Linked DNA regions of Homo sapiens: all the other regions are linked to region 1. Evidence: promoter capture Hi-C in 16 types of primary human blood cells and fetal thymus (Javierre and others, 2016). All regions are on one chromosome and are shown on one strand. Each heading gives the region's core, a stretch centred on a gene start or on the middle of the fragment in contact. The rest is flanking DNA. Distances are from core to core; before and after follow the strand shown.

Evidence for each region. Contacts are between HindIII fragments. The CHiCAGO score rates a contact against its expected background, and 5 or more counts as called.
Region 2: a fragment that was not itself captured here is called in contact with the fragment with the promoter of ACAP1 in region 1 in 11 of 17 cell types (fetal thymus, total CD8 T cells, erythroblasts and 8 more); the score reaches 13.4 in fetal thymus.
Region 3: the fragment with the promoter of CD68 here is called in contact with the fragment with the promoter of ACAP1 in region 1 in 14 of 17 cell types (fetal thymus, total B cells, neutrophils and 11 more); the score reaches 11.3 in fetal thymus.

Annotation. Positions count from the first base shown.
Region 1 is chr17:7,333,405-7,338,444 of GRCh38, forward strand. ACAP1 (ArfGAP with coiled-coil, ankyrin repeat and PH domains 1) reads left to right here and starts at 3,125. Exons shown (of 22, transcript NM_014716.4): 1 at 3,125-3,383; 2 at 3,908-3,965. The coding sequence starts at 3,331. RefSeq lists enhancers at 2,568-3,329, 3,330-4,091 and a silencer at 2,987-3,196. The HindIII fragment of the contact is 9,667 bases long and covers 1,495-5,040 here.
Region 2 is chr17:7,561,572-7,566,195 of GRCh38, forward strand. SENP3 (SUMO specific peptidase 3) reads left to right here and starts at 348. Exons shown (of 11, transcript NM_015670.6): 1 at 348-692; 2 at 1,495-2,220; 3 at 3,054-3,293; 4 at 3,388-3,499; 5 at 3,869-4,016; 6 at 4,146-4,193. The coding sequence starts at 1,506. It overlaps SENP3-EIF4A1 (SENP3-EIF4A1 readthrough (NMD candidate)), which reads left to right and starts at 421. Exons shown (of 22, transcript NR_037926.1): 1 at 421-692; 2 at 1,495-2,220; 3 at 3,054-3,293; 4 at 3,388-3,499; 5 at 3,869-4,016; 6 at 4,146-4,193. It overlaps TNFSF12-TNFSF13 (TNFSF12-TNFSF13 readthrough), which reads left to right. Exons shown (of 11, transcript NM_172089.4): 11 at 1-30. It overlaps TNFSF13 (TNF superfamily member 13), which reads left to right. Exons shown (of 6, transcript NM_003808.4): 6 at 1-30. RefSeq lists a silencer at 412-491 and an enhancer at 1,118-1,814. The HindIII fragment of the contact is 1,315 bases long and covers 636-1,950 here.
Region 3 is chr17:7,578,372-7,581,876 of GRCh38, forward strand. CD68 (CD68 molecule) reads left to right here and starts at 1,267. Exons shown (of 6, transcript NM_001251.3): 1 at 1,267-1,355; 2 at 1,439-1,956; 3 at 2,095-2,214; 4 at 2,340-2,412; 5 at 2,525-2,695; 6 at 3,007-3,505. The coding sequence starts at 1,307. The coding sequence ends at 3,140. It overlaps EIF4A1 (eukaryotic translation initiation factor 4A1), which reads left to right. Exons shown (of 11, transcript NM_001416.4): 11 at 1-635. The coding sequence ends at 115. SENP3-EIF4A1 (SENP3-EIF4A1 readthrough (NMD candidate)) reads left to right here. Exons shown (of 22, transcript NR_037926.1): 22 at 1-635. RefSeq lists a silencer at 268-456 and enhancers at 1,932-1,991, 2,092-2,161. The HindIII fragment of the contact is 9,128 bases long and covers 1-3,505 here.

The DNA of each region.
Region 1 (5,040 bases), core at 1,875-4,374:
TTGTCCATGATCATCTCTATATCTAATTTGTATTATGACTATTCTTATTCTAACTATTTCTTTATTATACTGAAACAGTTTGTGCCTTCAGTCTCTTACCTTGGCACCTAGGTAATCTTTCGCCCACAACATGAGATGAGGGTTGTGGATTGAATGGAAAGGGGGAGGTGGAGCGAGCCTTTGGCAAGAGTGCGGTGGGAAAGCCAAGCTCTCACCATGGTCACAGACTCCACCGACTTTGACAAGCGCCGCAAGGCACACTATGACAAAGGGAAGTTTCTCAAGGCTCAGAAAAACCAGCCCTTGGAGAATGAAGAGGATGAGGATGACAATGGTGGTATTATCAGTATCAGCGGTGGCAGTCAAGGCGTGATGCTGGACCCAGAGCCCAGGCCTGTGCAGAGAGGCTTGGCAGGAGAACTAGCCAGAGGAGCCAAAGATGAGCCAGGCCTGGTCACCTGGAGGCACATCCTTGAAGCCGAGGGTTAGCGATGGCGGGGCTCCAGGGACTAGAGGGGGTTGTATTCCAGAGCCCGTTCCTCACTTCTCTACCACAGTCTGTCTTCCTCAGTGGCTATCAGCCCAAGACTCTGCTGCCTGACAGGGAGGTAATGCTGGGAAGTAACCCCAGGGAAGAAAGAGGGCAGCTGGAGGAAGGACCCCACTCAGGATAGTCCCCGGAGATTATTGGCTGTTGAGGAACAGAAAGTCTGATTGGGGGCTGATTTGTTGGCCAGGCCCAGTGGCTCACTTCTGTAATCCCAGCACTTTGGGAGGATTGCTTGAGGCCAGAAGTTCAAAACCAGCCTGGGCAACGTAGGGAGACCTCATCTCTACAAAAAAAGAAAAAGAAAAAAATTGTTTTTAATTAGCCAGGTGTGGTGGCGTGCACCTGTAGTCCAGGCTACTGGGGAGGCTAAGGTGGGAGGATAGCTTGAGCCCAGGAGTTTGAGGCTGCCGTGAGCGATGATGGCACTAACACATTCCAGCCTGGGTAACATAGCAAGATCTTGTCTCAAAAAATAAATAAAAAAATAAACAAAAGTCCGAGACAACCATGGGGGGAGGTGGAGCGGTCACTGAAGTTTTTCTAAAATGGGAAGGGTAAGAGAAGTCAGTGAGATGAGGATCTGGGGCCTGAGCTTCTCCCCTCTGGTGAGGGCCCACAACAGACACCTGGGAGGCATGGATACACCAGATGGCTAGAAGACTTGGATTCATTTGATTGATTCCTCAGATTCCTCCACCTACAGAAATCAGTCCCCCCAGCTGTGGCCACTATCATATTGGGGCAGGAGATTGCTCTGCAGCACAAGGAATATGATGGCAAAGGACTATACCTGAGGTCCTGCTCCCACCCAGAGCTTGTAGAGGACGTGGAAGATGAGCATCAGGATGGTGAGAACCTGGGCAGGCCAGCCTAGGGGGCAGGAGGGCTGGGAATGCACAGCCTGATGGGTACCCGAGCCCTGATCCCTGATTCTAGGCTCCACAAGCTTGACCTAGGTGATTGAGAACCCCGTAAGCACTGAAGTCCACCTACTGGACCACATGGGAGGCCCCTTTAGGGATCACAAGGCCACGGAGAGCTCCCTGATGGCAACAATGACAACATTGCAGCCTGTTGAGGGCACCAGGCCACCATCTCCCTGGGGCTGTCTCTTGGCAAGCTCCCATCTCCCAGCCCTCCAATTCTTTCAGGCCAGTACATCAGCAACAGGTGGAAGGAGAGGCCCTGAACAGCCTCAAGTCCAAGGTCCACATTGGACAGGCGAGGAACCAGGGAGACTCAGAGGCGGTTGGGACCCCCTCCAGCTTGGCACCACACACTGGCTCCATGCCTCCTCCTTCACTCCTCTGCCACACCACCCCACTCCAGGTATTTCTCTGTCCTCCAAAGACAGTGAGTCTCAAGTGGTGTCCAGCTGGTGGCTGGGGGGCTGAGCTGGCAAAGCCCAAGGAGTTCAGAGAGGGAGAGTGGAAGCAACCCCAACTCCTCAAGCCAGAACAAGCACAGCCTGGCACACTGAGCCTGGGCAGAGGCAAGGGGATGCATACACTGGCCAGGGAGGTAGAGGAGCTGAGTGGGGAGGTTCTAGGGGATCCAGAGTCACATGGACAAGATCTCATGCCTGCTACGAGAAAGCCATGAACTCAAACTCTTCTCTCCAGATGAAACCCTGGGACTTCAATGGACTCAAGAAAAGGAAAGCAAACAATGGAAAATGGGGCTGGTTGGGGGCGGAGTGGGGGCAACCTTCCCTTCATGACCACCCTATGAATAGAAATAAAGAGCAGAAGAGCAAGAGTCTGGGAGCTGTGAATCGGGTGCTCAGGCTGGGCCTGCTCAGTCGTTGAGGAGAGGGGAGGAGGAAGGGGAGTTCACACACAGGAACCATGAATATGACGGCAAAACGAAGAAAGCTGGGAGCAGTCCGGGGTACTGGACTCCACAGGAGCAGGCCCAAGCTGTAGCAGGATGACAATGACTGATGCAATTAATATAGTGAACCAGCTGGGCACAGTGGCTCACGCCTGTAATCCTAGCACTTTGGGAGGCCGAGGTGGGTGGATCACCTGAGGTCAGGAGGTCGAGACAAGTCTGACCAACAAGGTGAAACCCCGTCCCTACTGAAAATACAAAAAGTTAGCCGGGCATGATGGCAGGAGCCTGTAGTCCCAGCTACTCGGGAGGCTGAGACAGGAGAATTGCTTGAACCCAGGAGGCGGAGGTTGTAGTGAGCCGACATCGCGCCACTGCACTGCAGCCTGGGCGATGGAGGGAGACTCCGTCTCATAAATAAATAAATTTAGTGAACCATGAATTTACTGCTATCACCTTCTTCACTTCGTACAGCCCTGGAGGAAGGGGTTATCATTCCCATCTTCCAGATGAGAAAACTGAGGAATCAGAGAGCTCGTCCAGGGGCACATAACCTCTAAGTGACAGAGCCAGGATTTGAACCTAGATCTGCCAGGCCCCCAAGATAACCACGAAGAGAGAAAGAAACAGAGGCTAGAGCCCCAGGAGGAAGGAGCTGGCAGATCGTCTCTGAGGGTGGGGCTGTGGCTTCTCTGATCTCAGGCCCCCATCCTCCGCCCAGGCCCCGCCCCTGCCCCTCCCAGCACTGCCTGGAAGTGTGGGGTGAGAGCTCCTCCTAGGACACCCCTTTCCCCTTGGGGAAAGAATTGTGCCCCCAGGCCCTTCCCCGCGGAGGTCCCTCTCCTCCTTCCCCCTCATCTCCCCTTCCTGGGACAGAAAGTGCCTCCACCTGCATCCCCAGGGGCCCGGCCTCCAGGGCCCGCTGGCCCCACAGCAGGCAAGCTGAGATGACGGTCAAGCTGGATTTCGAGGAGTGTCTCAAGGACTCACCCCGTTTCCGGTAAGTGTGAACTGGTCTGGGGGGCTAAGGAGGGGAAAGTCTAACACCCCCAGCACACACACACCTTTCCCCAGGCCAGGTCTCCTTCCAGGGAGCAGGCCTCTAAGAGGCAGGAGCGAGCCTGTGGGCCAAAGTGGTACCCCAGCTGTGAAAGCAGGGTACTCCAATGCTCTCTGCCCCTGCATGCTCCTCCTGGCCTCTGCAGTTTCCCTCACCCCTAGAGCTGGCATTCCCTCTGGCCTCTCAGTGGGACCCCTGCCCCTCCCCCAGCACCTGCTCTGGGGCGGTTAGCAACTTCCTGCCCTGGCCACATCCACCCTCCTTCTACCCTTCCTGCTCTGGCCTGGGCTGTGGTAGCTCCCAGACTGCAGAGCGGGCAGAGCACAAGTAGGTGGGTGGGGGGCGAGCCTCTCAACTCTGCAGCTTTCTCCTCCGTACCCACCGCCCTGCGACTCCATCCCGCCTGATGAGGCAGACAGACCAGATGGACCCAAGCTCTCTTCCCATGACCCCCTCTTTCCCAGAGCCTCTATTGAGCTGGTGGAAGCCGAAGTGTCAGAATTGGAGACCCGTCTGGAAAAGGTGACCCTGACATGGAGAGGTGACCCAGGAGTGGATTAGGTTGAGAGGGGTAGGGCCAGGGAGAAAGCTGGAGACACAGAATGCATCCCAGGGATTATTGAATACTGTGTAGGGGAGATATTTTGGAGACTGCAGAGAAGCAAAAAAGGTGGTTCTGTACCGACAAGAAGCTCAGGATCTTGGAAAACAAGACTTACTTTTGGGCCAGGCATGGTAGCTCATGCCTGTAATCCCAGCACTTTGGGAGGCCAAGGTGAATGGATCACCTGAGGTCAGGAGTTCTAGACCAGCCTGGCTAACATGGCGAAACCCCATCTCTACTAAAAATGCAAAAATCATCCAGGCTTAGTGGCACCCATCTGTAGCTCCAGCTACTCAAGAGGCTGAGGCAGAGGAATCACTTGAACCTGGGAGGCGGAGGTTGCAGTGAGCCAAGATCGCACCACTGCACTCCAGGCTAGGCGACAGAGCGAGACTCTGTGTCAAAAAAAAAAAGACTTAATTTTGGACTTCCTTGTTCTGCTCTTGAGCTCCTGCATTGTGCCAGGCCCTGGGCATTCAGGGAGGACAAGATCATTTCTGCTCCCACGGAGCCCAAAGGCTGACTAGAAGACAAACCAGTGAAACGTTTCAATTCAAGACAGTAAGGTGTCCCCTGAGCACTCTATCAAACAGCATGTTCACACAAATACACACTCAAATGCTCTCTCATTCCCCTTACTTCGCTTTACTTTTCTCTGCAACATTTACCTCTGACACATTATGTATTTGCTTGCTATATATTAGTTCTCTATTGCTGTGTAACAAATTGTCACAAATTTAGTGGGCAACATTGTTTTATGGGCAACATGGTGAGACCTCATCTCTACAAATAATAATTTTATTTTTATTTTTATTTATTTGAGATGGAGTCTCGCTCTGTCACCCAGGCTGGAGTGCAGTGGTGCGATCTCGGCTTACTGGAACCTCCACCTCCCAGGTTCAAGTGATTCTCCTACCTCAGCCTCCCAAGTAGCTGGGATTACAGGTGTGCACCACCACACCTGGATAATTTTTTTTCTTTTTGTATTTTTAG
Region 2 (4,624 bases), core at 43-2,542, 230 kb after region 1:
TTAAAGTTAAATAAAATAGAATGAATGATACCCCGGCTCCATTTCCCCCACTGCCTCGCCTCAGCCCGGTCCTCGTACGGGGATCTCCCGCCCTCCTGGCTCTCCTGTGGCGCGCCCCCCGCCGGATCAAGGTACTGGGGATGCCGCTAGGGTCAGGCCCGCGAGCGCGGAGAAGACAGAGCGCGGCGCAAAAGGGAAAGTGGCGGGGCCGCCACGCGCGGCCGGGCGGCGGATGTGCGCAGGCGCAGCCTCGCGTAGCGCTCTGGGCTGGCCAGTCCCGTGGCGCCGGCGTCCTCGGGTAGACGGGACCGCGCGCTTGGTGGCCGCGCCGGCGCTCTTCGCCGGGTGTGACGTACTAATCGTGCGCCACCGCTGCCGGTGGGCCCGGGGCTCGCGGGAGGGGAAGGAGGAGGGGGGGAGGAGTGGCGGCGGCGGCGGTGGCGCTGGTGGCGGCGGTGGCGGAGGTGGAGGTGGAGGTGGAAGCTGAAGCTGAAGCAGAGCCAGAGGCGGCGCGGCGGGGTGCTCGGCGGCGCGGCACGCGGCCCAGAAGCGTTGGAATCCTGAATTGAGACGGCTGCGCCTAAAGACAGCAGGAGTGGCGGGGCCGCCGCCGTCGCCGGAGAGATGAGCCGGGAAGCTTGAGGCCGGAGACGCCCGCCTTCGGGCCCGTCCGCCCGGCTTCCCCGCTCCCGGTGAGGACGCCCCCTCCCCTCCCCCCAGCCCTGCCTTGGCCTCTCCCATTCCTGGGCCTCGCTCCCACCGAACCGGGGCCCAGAGGCCCGCATAGGGGCTTCTTAAGGCCCGTGTGCGCCGAGCCATCCAAGCTCGTGGGACCGGACTGGTGCCGGGTTGCATTCTGGTCCCCGAGGATGAAGTAGGAGGGGGCTGGGCCGGCCTGGCTTGTGCGCTCCGTTCTGTCCCAGCGTCTTGATTCGGTTCTCTTTAAGTTTCCTTCAAAGTTCTTCCCCGTTTATCAGCCTCTGCCCCCTGAACCATATCCCTGGCATCTGCACTTGAGATGACCGCAGCCTTCCCATGCCCCCCGTTCATCCAGGGTGTTAGAGAACTGTCTCCCATTCCAGTCCAGTTTCCACGTGCAAGTTGCATTCTCCTCAAGTACCACGGTTATCATGTCCCTGAGGAAAGAAACTGCCCTTGTTGGGCCCTCAAAGGACAGCCCTGGTGGTATTAAAATAAAGACGTAGAACCTGGCAGTGCTATTGGGTTTGGCCTGGTGATCTTAGAAATAAGATCTCTGAGGCCTGCTGCTTAGCCATTTTCCCTTGTCTCTGGACTGGGGAGAGATGATGGCACAGACCCTGAAGGGCCCCTTGTGGACCGCGTTAACCGGGAAGATCTTAAGTTAGGAGTTTTGCGTTTTTTCCTCTTTTCTTTATTTGCATCTGAATCCAGAGGAGGCATGGCCAGGAAGAGAGGCAGGATCTGCGGTGGGGTGATGCTTAGATTTTGATACCCTGATCTTTTGTTTTTCAGGGTACTGGAAGATGAAAGAGACTATACAAGGGACCGGGTCCTGGGGGCCTGAGCCTCCTGGACCCGGCATACCCCCAGCTTACTCAAGTCCCAGGCGGGAGCGTCTTCGTTGGCCCCCACCTCCCAAACCCCGACTCAAGTCAGGTGGAGGGTTTGGGCCAGATCCTGGGTCAGGGACCACAGTGCCAGCCAGACGCCTCCCTGTCCCCCGACCCTCTTTTGATGCCTCAGCAAGTGAAGAGGAGGAAGAAGAGGAGGAGGAGGAGGATGAAGATGAAGAGGAGGAAGTGGCAGCTTGGAGGCTGCCCCCAAGATGGAGTCAGCTGGGAACCTCCCAGCGGCCCCGCCCTTCCCGCCCCACTCATCGAAAAACCTGCTCACAGCGCCGCCGCCGAGCCATGAGAGCCTTCCGGATGCTGCTCTACTCAAAAAGCACCTCGCTGACATTCCACTGGAAGCTTTGGGGGCGCCACCGGGGCCGGCGGCGGGGCCTCGCACACCCCAAGAACCATCTTTCACCCCAGCAAGGGGGTGCGACGCCACAGGTGCCATCCCCCTGTTGTCGTTTTGACTCCCCCCGGGGGCCACCTCCACCCCGGCTGGGTCTGCTAGGTGCTCTCATGGCTGAGGATGGGGTGAGAGGGTCTCCACCAGTGCCCTCTGGGCCCCCCATGGAGGAAGATGGACTCAGGTGGACTCCAAAGTCTCCTCTGGACCCTGACTCGGGTAAGGTGGGAAAGGGGTGTGGGGTTGCGGGGGAGGGGTTAGGGAGGGTTAAGAGCCTGGAGCACCAGGAGCCTGTTGCCATGGTGAGAGCTGGGCTTAAGGAAAGTAGGATGGAAGAGTGCCGGCTCCAGAAGAGCTGCGAAATGTCTCCATTAAGCCCCACTTTGAGCAGAAAGTAAGCCTGGGAGTGAGCCTGGCAGTTTCCCAGGCAGAGCTAGGAAACAGATGCCCTAAGTAGGTATCCCGTGGTCTTGAGCGCAGATGAGAAAGGGAGATGTGGTTTACAAAAATCCTGTCCACACGAAATCCCTTGTCGGCCTCTCAGTATAAGAACCCCCGTGTATACATCTCCAGAGGGTACCATTCCCAAAGTGACGGGATGGGATCTCTCCCAGTAGTGGAGTACATCATCTTACAGTTGTGAAAGAATATTTCCCTTTCGGAGAACTCCAGCCAAACAGTTTCAGGCTCTCTAGGTCTTTATTACATATTCTAGTATTCATTGAGCCTTTACAATATGCTGGGTACTATGCTGGGTGTTTGGCATATAGTGGTGACAAATATCCCGAAGTTTTCATTTCTAAATGCTAATCCTTTTTCTTTCTTCCTGTCTATGAGTAGGAACTCTCTCTCCATCCCTGTAGAATCTCTTGGACATGTTTATCTCATGCTTATGGGGTCCCCATTTCTTGGAGTGGGATTGACATTGGTGGATTCTGCTTCAGTGTATCCTTCTTGCGGTCTTATTTGCATGCATGAGTCAACTGTGTGCATCCCATTGTGCTTTCCCCAGGCCAGTCTCTCATGCCCATTCCATTTCCCCTGCCCTATAGGCCTCCTTTCATGTACTCTGCCCAACGGTTTTGGGGGACAATCTGGGCCAGAAGGGGAGCGCAGCTTGGCACCCCCTGATGCCAGCATCCTCATCAGCAATGTGTGCAGCATCGGGGACCATGTGGCCCAGGAGCTTTTTCAGGGCTCAGATTTGGGCATGGCAGAAGAGGCAGAGAGGCCTGGGGAGAAAGCCGGCCAGCACAGCCCCCTGCGAGAGGAGCATGTGACCTGCGTACAGAGTAAGGAGCCCTTAAGCAACTAGCCTCTCTCCCTTCTCCGACTCCTAGAGGAGAGTCTGGAGGCCTCACCCCCTCCTCTCTCCCTTTCCACCAGGCATCTTGGACGAATTCCTTCAAACGTATGGCAGCCTCATACCCCTCAGCACTGATGAGGTAGTAGAGAAGCTGGAGGACATTTTCCAGCAGGAGTTTTCCACCCCTTCCAGGTGAGGCTTGAAAGCCCTCCTTGAAAGAAGGGCTGGGGCCTTGGGGATGTGGAGAGAATACTGCTGCCTTTTCTTCCATAGGGCTGTAGTTGGGGAGGAGGAAGCTAGAGCTGAAGGGGAGGACTCTGCAGGCAGGTGCCAAATCCTTGGAAGCTGATGGGAGAGTCTTTACCTGGGACCCTGAAATGTTCTACCTGAGTAGTCATGTTTATCTTTCTGGGGAGTGGGCCTTTCGCAGGTCCTCAGAAGGACCCATCATGAGCCAGAAAAAAGGGAGTCAGTTAGAATTTGTATTCCAGGGAGTAGTAGGTATTTCTGTGTGCCCCAGCTGCATCATCTTTTGTGTGACTCCACCCTTGGCCTACTCAGGAAGGGCCTGGTGTTGCAGCTGATCCAGTCTTACCAGCGGATGCCAGGCAATGCCATGGTGAGGGGCTTCCGAGTGGCTTATAAGCGGCACGTGCTGACCATGGATGACTTGGGGACCTTGTATGGACAGAACTGGCTCAATGACCAGGTGAGAAAGGGTAGAGAAACAGGCCTGAGAGGGGATTCAGGGAGCAGGGTGTCTGGGGCCCTCTGCATGGGGGAGCCCTGTACCCATGCCGCACCCTCCATGGCAAGCTGCCTCCCATCTTCTCCCCAGGTGATGAACATGTATGGAGACCTGGTCATGGACACAGTCCCTGAAAAGGTAGGCCCAACCAGATAGGTCAGTACCCAGAGGAACTTCTGCAGTTTTAAGCAGCTTTTTAAGCTCCTTTCATCTCTTTCATTTTACACAGAGAGGGTCTCTGTTTCAGGGAGAGAGGTGGTAGTGGTAGTGTATTAATTTCAAATCCGTAATCTTGGGCTCTGGATTTATCAGTTGTTTTCCTTTCTGCCAGTATTTAGTGTTTTTCGCTATGGCCAGCCCCAAGGATTGGGATGGGTTCCTATTGTAACTATTGTAAAACAAGATTTAAAAAAAAAAAGAAAAAGAAAAAGGCCACCGGGCATGGTAGCTCATGCCTGTAATCCCAGCACTCTGGGAGACCAGGGCGGGTGGATCACCTGAGGTCGGGAGTTCAAGACCAGCCTGACCAATATGGAGAAATCCCGTCTCTACTAAAAATACAAAATTAG
Region 3 (3,505 bases), core at 17-2,516, 240 kb after region 1:
AGGTGTGGCTATTAACATGGTGACAGAAGAAGACAAGAGGACTCTTCGAGACATTGAGACCTTCTACAACACCTCCATTGAGGAAATGCCCCTCAATGTTGCTGACCTCATCTGAGGGGCTGTCCTGCCACCCAGCCCCAGCCAGGGCTCAATCTCTGGGGGCTGAGGAGCAGCAGGAGGGGGGAGGGAAGGGAGCCAAGGGATGGACATCTTGTCATTTTTTTTCTTTGAATAAATGTCACTTTTTGAGGCAAAAGAAGGAACCGTGAACATTTTAGACACCCTTTTCTTTGGGGTAGGCTCTTGCCCCAGGCGCCGGCTCTTCTCCCAAAAAAAAAAAAAAAACACTAATCCATTTCCCTAACCTAGTAACCTCCAGATCCCAGAGGCTCTCCTCACCTCAGCTGAGCTCCTTTGAAAGTGATTCAAGGGACTATGTCACTCAGCCTCATTTGCTGGACCAAATCTGGAGGGAGAACCCCTAAAACCCCTAAGTGAGGTTGCCCAGGGGGTTGTCCCCAGGTGGGGGGAAGCAGGGGAGAGAAAATGGTAGCCATTTTTACATTGTTTTGTATAGTATTTATTGATTCAGGAAACAAACACAAAATTCTGAATAAAATGACTTGGAAACTGCCTGTTTGGGCTTCTCATTTCTTACCTCCCCTTCCCTCTCCCACCTGCTACTGGGTGCATCTCTGCTCCCCCCTTCCCCAGCAGATGGTTACCTTTGGGCTGTTGCTTTCTTGTCACCATCTGAGTTCTCAGACGCTGGAAAGCCATGTTCTCGGCTCTGTGAATGACAATGCTGACTGGAGTGCTGCCCCTCTGTAAAGGGCTGGGTGTGGATGGTCACAAGCCCCTCACATGCCTCAGCCAAGAGGAAGTAGTACAGGGGTCAGCCCAGAGGTCCAGGGGAAAGGAGTGGAAACCGATTTCCCCACCAAGGGAGGGGCCTGTACCTCAGCTGTTCCCATAGCTACTTGCCACAACTGCCAAGCAAGTTTCGCTGAGTTTGACACATGGATCCCTGTGGATCAACTGCCCTAGGACTCCGTTTGCACCCATGTGACACTGTTGACTTTGCCCTGATGAAGCAGGGCCAACAGTCCCCTAACTTAATTACAAAAACTAATGACTAAGAGAGAGGTGGCTAGAGCTGAGGCCCCTGAGTCAGGCTGTGGGTGGGATCATCTCCAGTACAGGAAGTGAGACTTTCATTTCCTCCTTTCCAAGAGAGGGCTGAGGGAGCAGGGTTGAGCAACTGGTGCAGACAGCCTAGCTGGACTTTGGGTGAGGCGGTTCAGCCATGAGGCTGGCTGTGCTTTTCTCGGGGGCCCTGCTGGGGCTACTGGCAGGTAAGGAGGAAGGAGGCTGAGGGGAGGGGGCCCCTGGGAGGGAGCCTGCCCTGGGTTGCTAACCATCTCCTCTCTGCCAAAAGCCCAGGGGACAGGGAATGACTGTCCTCACAAAAAATCAGCTACTTTGCTGCCATCCTTCACGGTGACACCCACGGTTACAGAGAGCACTGGAACAACCAGCCACAGGACTACCAAGAGCCACAAAACCACCACTCACAGGACAACCACCACAGGCACCACCAGCCACGGACCCACGACTGCCACTCACAACCCCACCACCACCAGCCATGGAAACGTCACAGTTCATCCAACAAGCAATAGCACTGCCACCAGCCAGGGACCCTCAACTGCCACTCACAGTCCTGCCACCACTAGTCATGGAAATGCCACGGTTCATCCAACAAGCAACAGCACTGCCACCAGCCCAGGATTCACCAGTTCTGCCCACCCAGAACCACCTCCACCCTCTCCGAGTCCTAGCCCAACCTCCAAGGAGACCATTGGAGACTACACGTGGACCAATGGTTCCCAGCCCTGTGTCCACCTCCAAGCCCAGATTCAGATTCGAGTCATGTACACAACCCAGGGTGGAGGAGAGGTAAAGCTAAAACTGGGGGATGAGAGGGGAGGGAGGCAGGACTGGATATAGGCTCAGAGGGAAGAAGGAAGAGGGGACAGGGAACCTTGGCCGGCATCGCATGCAGTCTTGTGACCTTCCAGTCTTTAACTTCCGCAGGCCTGGGGCATCTCTGTACTGAACCCCAACAAAACCAAGGTCCAGGGAAGCTGTGAGGGTGCCCATCCCCACCTGCTTCTCTCATTCCCCTATGGACACCTCAGCTTTGGATTCATGCAGGTATAGCCATGACCTCAGTCTCACCCCTCACTCAGCCTCCCGGCGCCCCTCCCCTCCCAATCCCACACGCTACTCCTTCCTCTGTGGAGAGGGATACCACCTGCGCCTTCCTCTTCGCCCCACAGGACCTCCAGCAGAAGGTTGTCTACCTGAGCTACATGGCGGTGGAGTACAATGTGTCCTTCCCCCACGCAGCACGTAAGTAACCTCCTTCCCTTTCTCATTGCTACCACTAGACGCCAGGGTTCCTGAAAGGACTAAGCTGGGGCCAGGGAGGTGGATAGGATCTGACCCTTCCTCACTCCTCCAGAGTGGACATTCTCGGCTCAGAATGCATCCCTTCGAGATCTCCAAGCACCCCTGGGGCAGAGCTTCAGTTGCAGCAACTCGAGCATCATTCTTTCACCAGCTGTCCACCTCGACCTGCTCTCCCTGAGGCTCCAGGCTGCTCAGCTGCCCCACACAGGGGTCTTTGGGCAAAGTAAGACCTACCTACTCCTTCCCTCCTAGAATCCTCCCACTGCACTGAAAACCCCTTCCCCAGGCCCATAAGCCACTCATCTCTCTTCTTAACCCCCCAAATCTCGCTCTCCCAGCTTGTCATGGCTACAGGGCAGCTTTCTTTCCATCCTCTACAAGACTCTGCCAGTTTCCCCCTTTTATCACTGCTGAGTCACTGCGGTGAGCTCCTCACCAATCTCCTACTCCCCAGCATCCCCCCATTCCCTCCTCCCACCTTTATCCCAACCAGCACGTCACTGCAAATACCTACCTGCCCTATCCTTCCGCCAGGTTTCTCCTGCCCCAGTGACCGGTCCATCTTGCTGCCTCTCATCATCGGCCTGATCCTTCTTGGCCTCCTCGCCCTGGTGCTTATTGCTTTCTGCATCATCCGGAGACGCCCATCCGCCTACCAGGCCCTCTGAGCATTTGCTTCAAACCCCAGGGCACTGAGGGGGTTGGGGTGTGGTGGGGGGGTACCCTTATTTCCTCGACACGCAACTGGCTCAAAGACAATGTTATTTTCCTTCCCTTTCTTGAAGAACAAAAAGAAAGCCGGGCATGACGGCTCATGCCTGTAATCCCAGCACTTTGGGAGGCTGAGGCAGGTGGATCACTGGAGGTCAGGAGTTTGAGACCAGCCTGGCCAACATGGTGAAACCCTGTCTCTACTAAAAATACAATTAGCCAGGTGTGGCGGCGTAATCCCAGCTGGCCTGTAATCCCAGCTACTTGGGAGGCTGAGGCAGAACTGCTTGAACCCAGGAGGTGGAGGTTGCAGTGAGCCGTC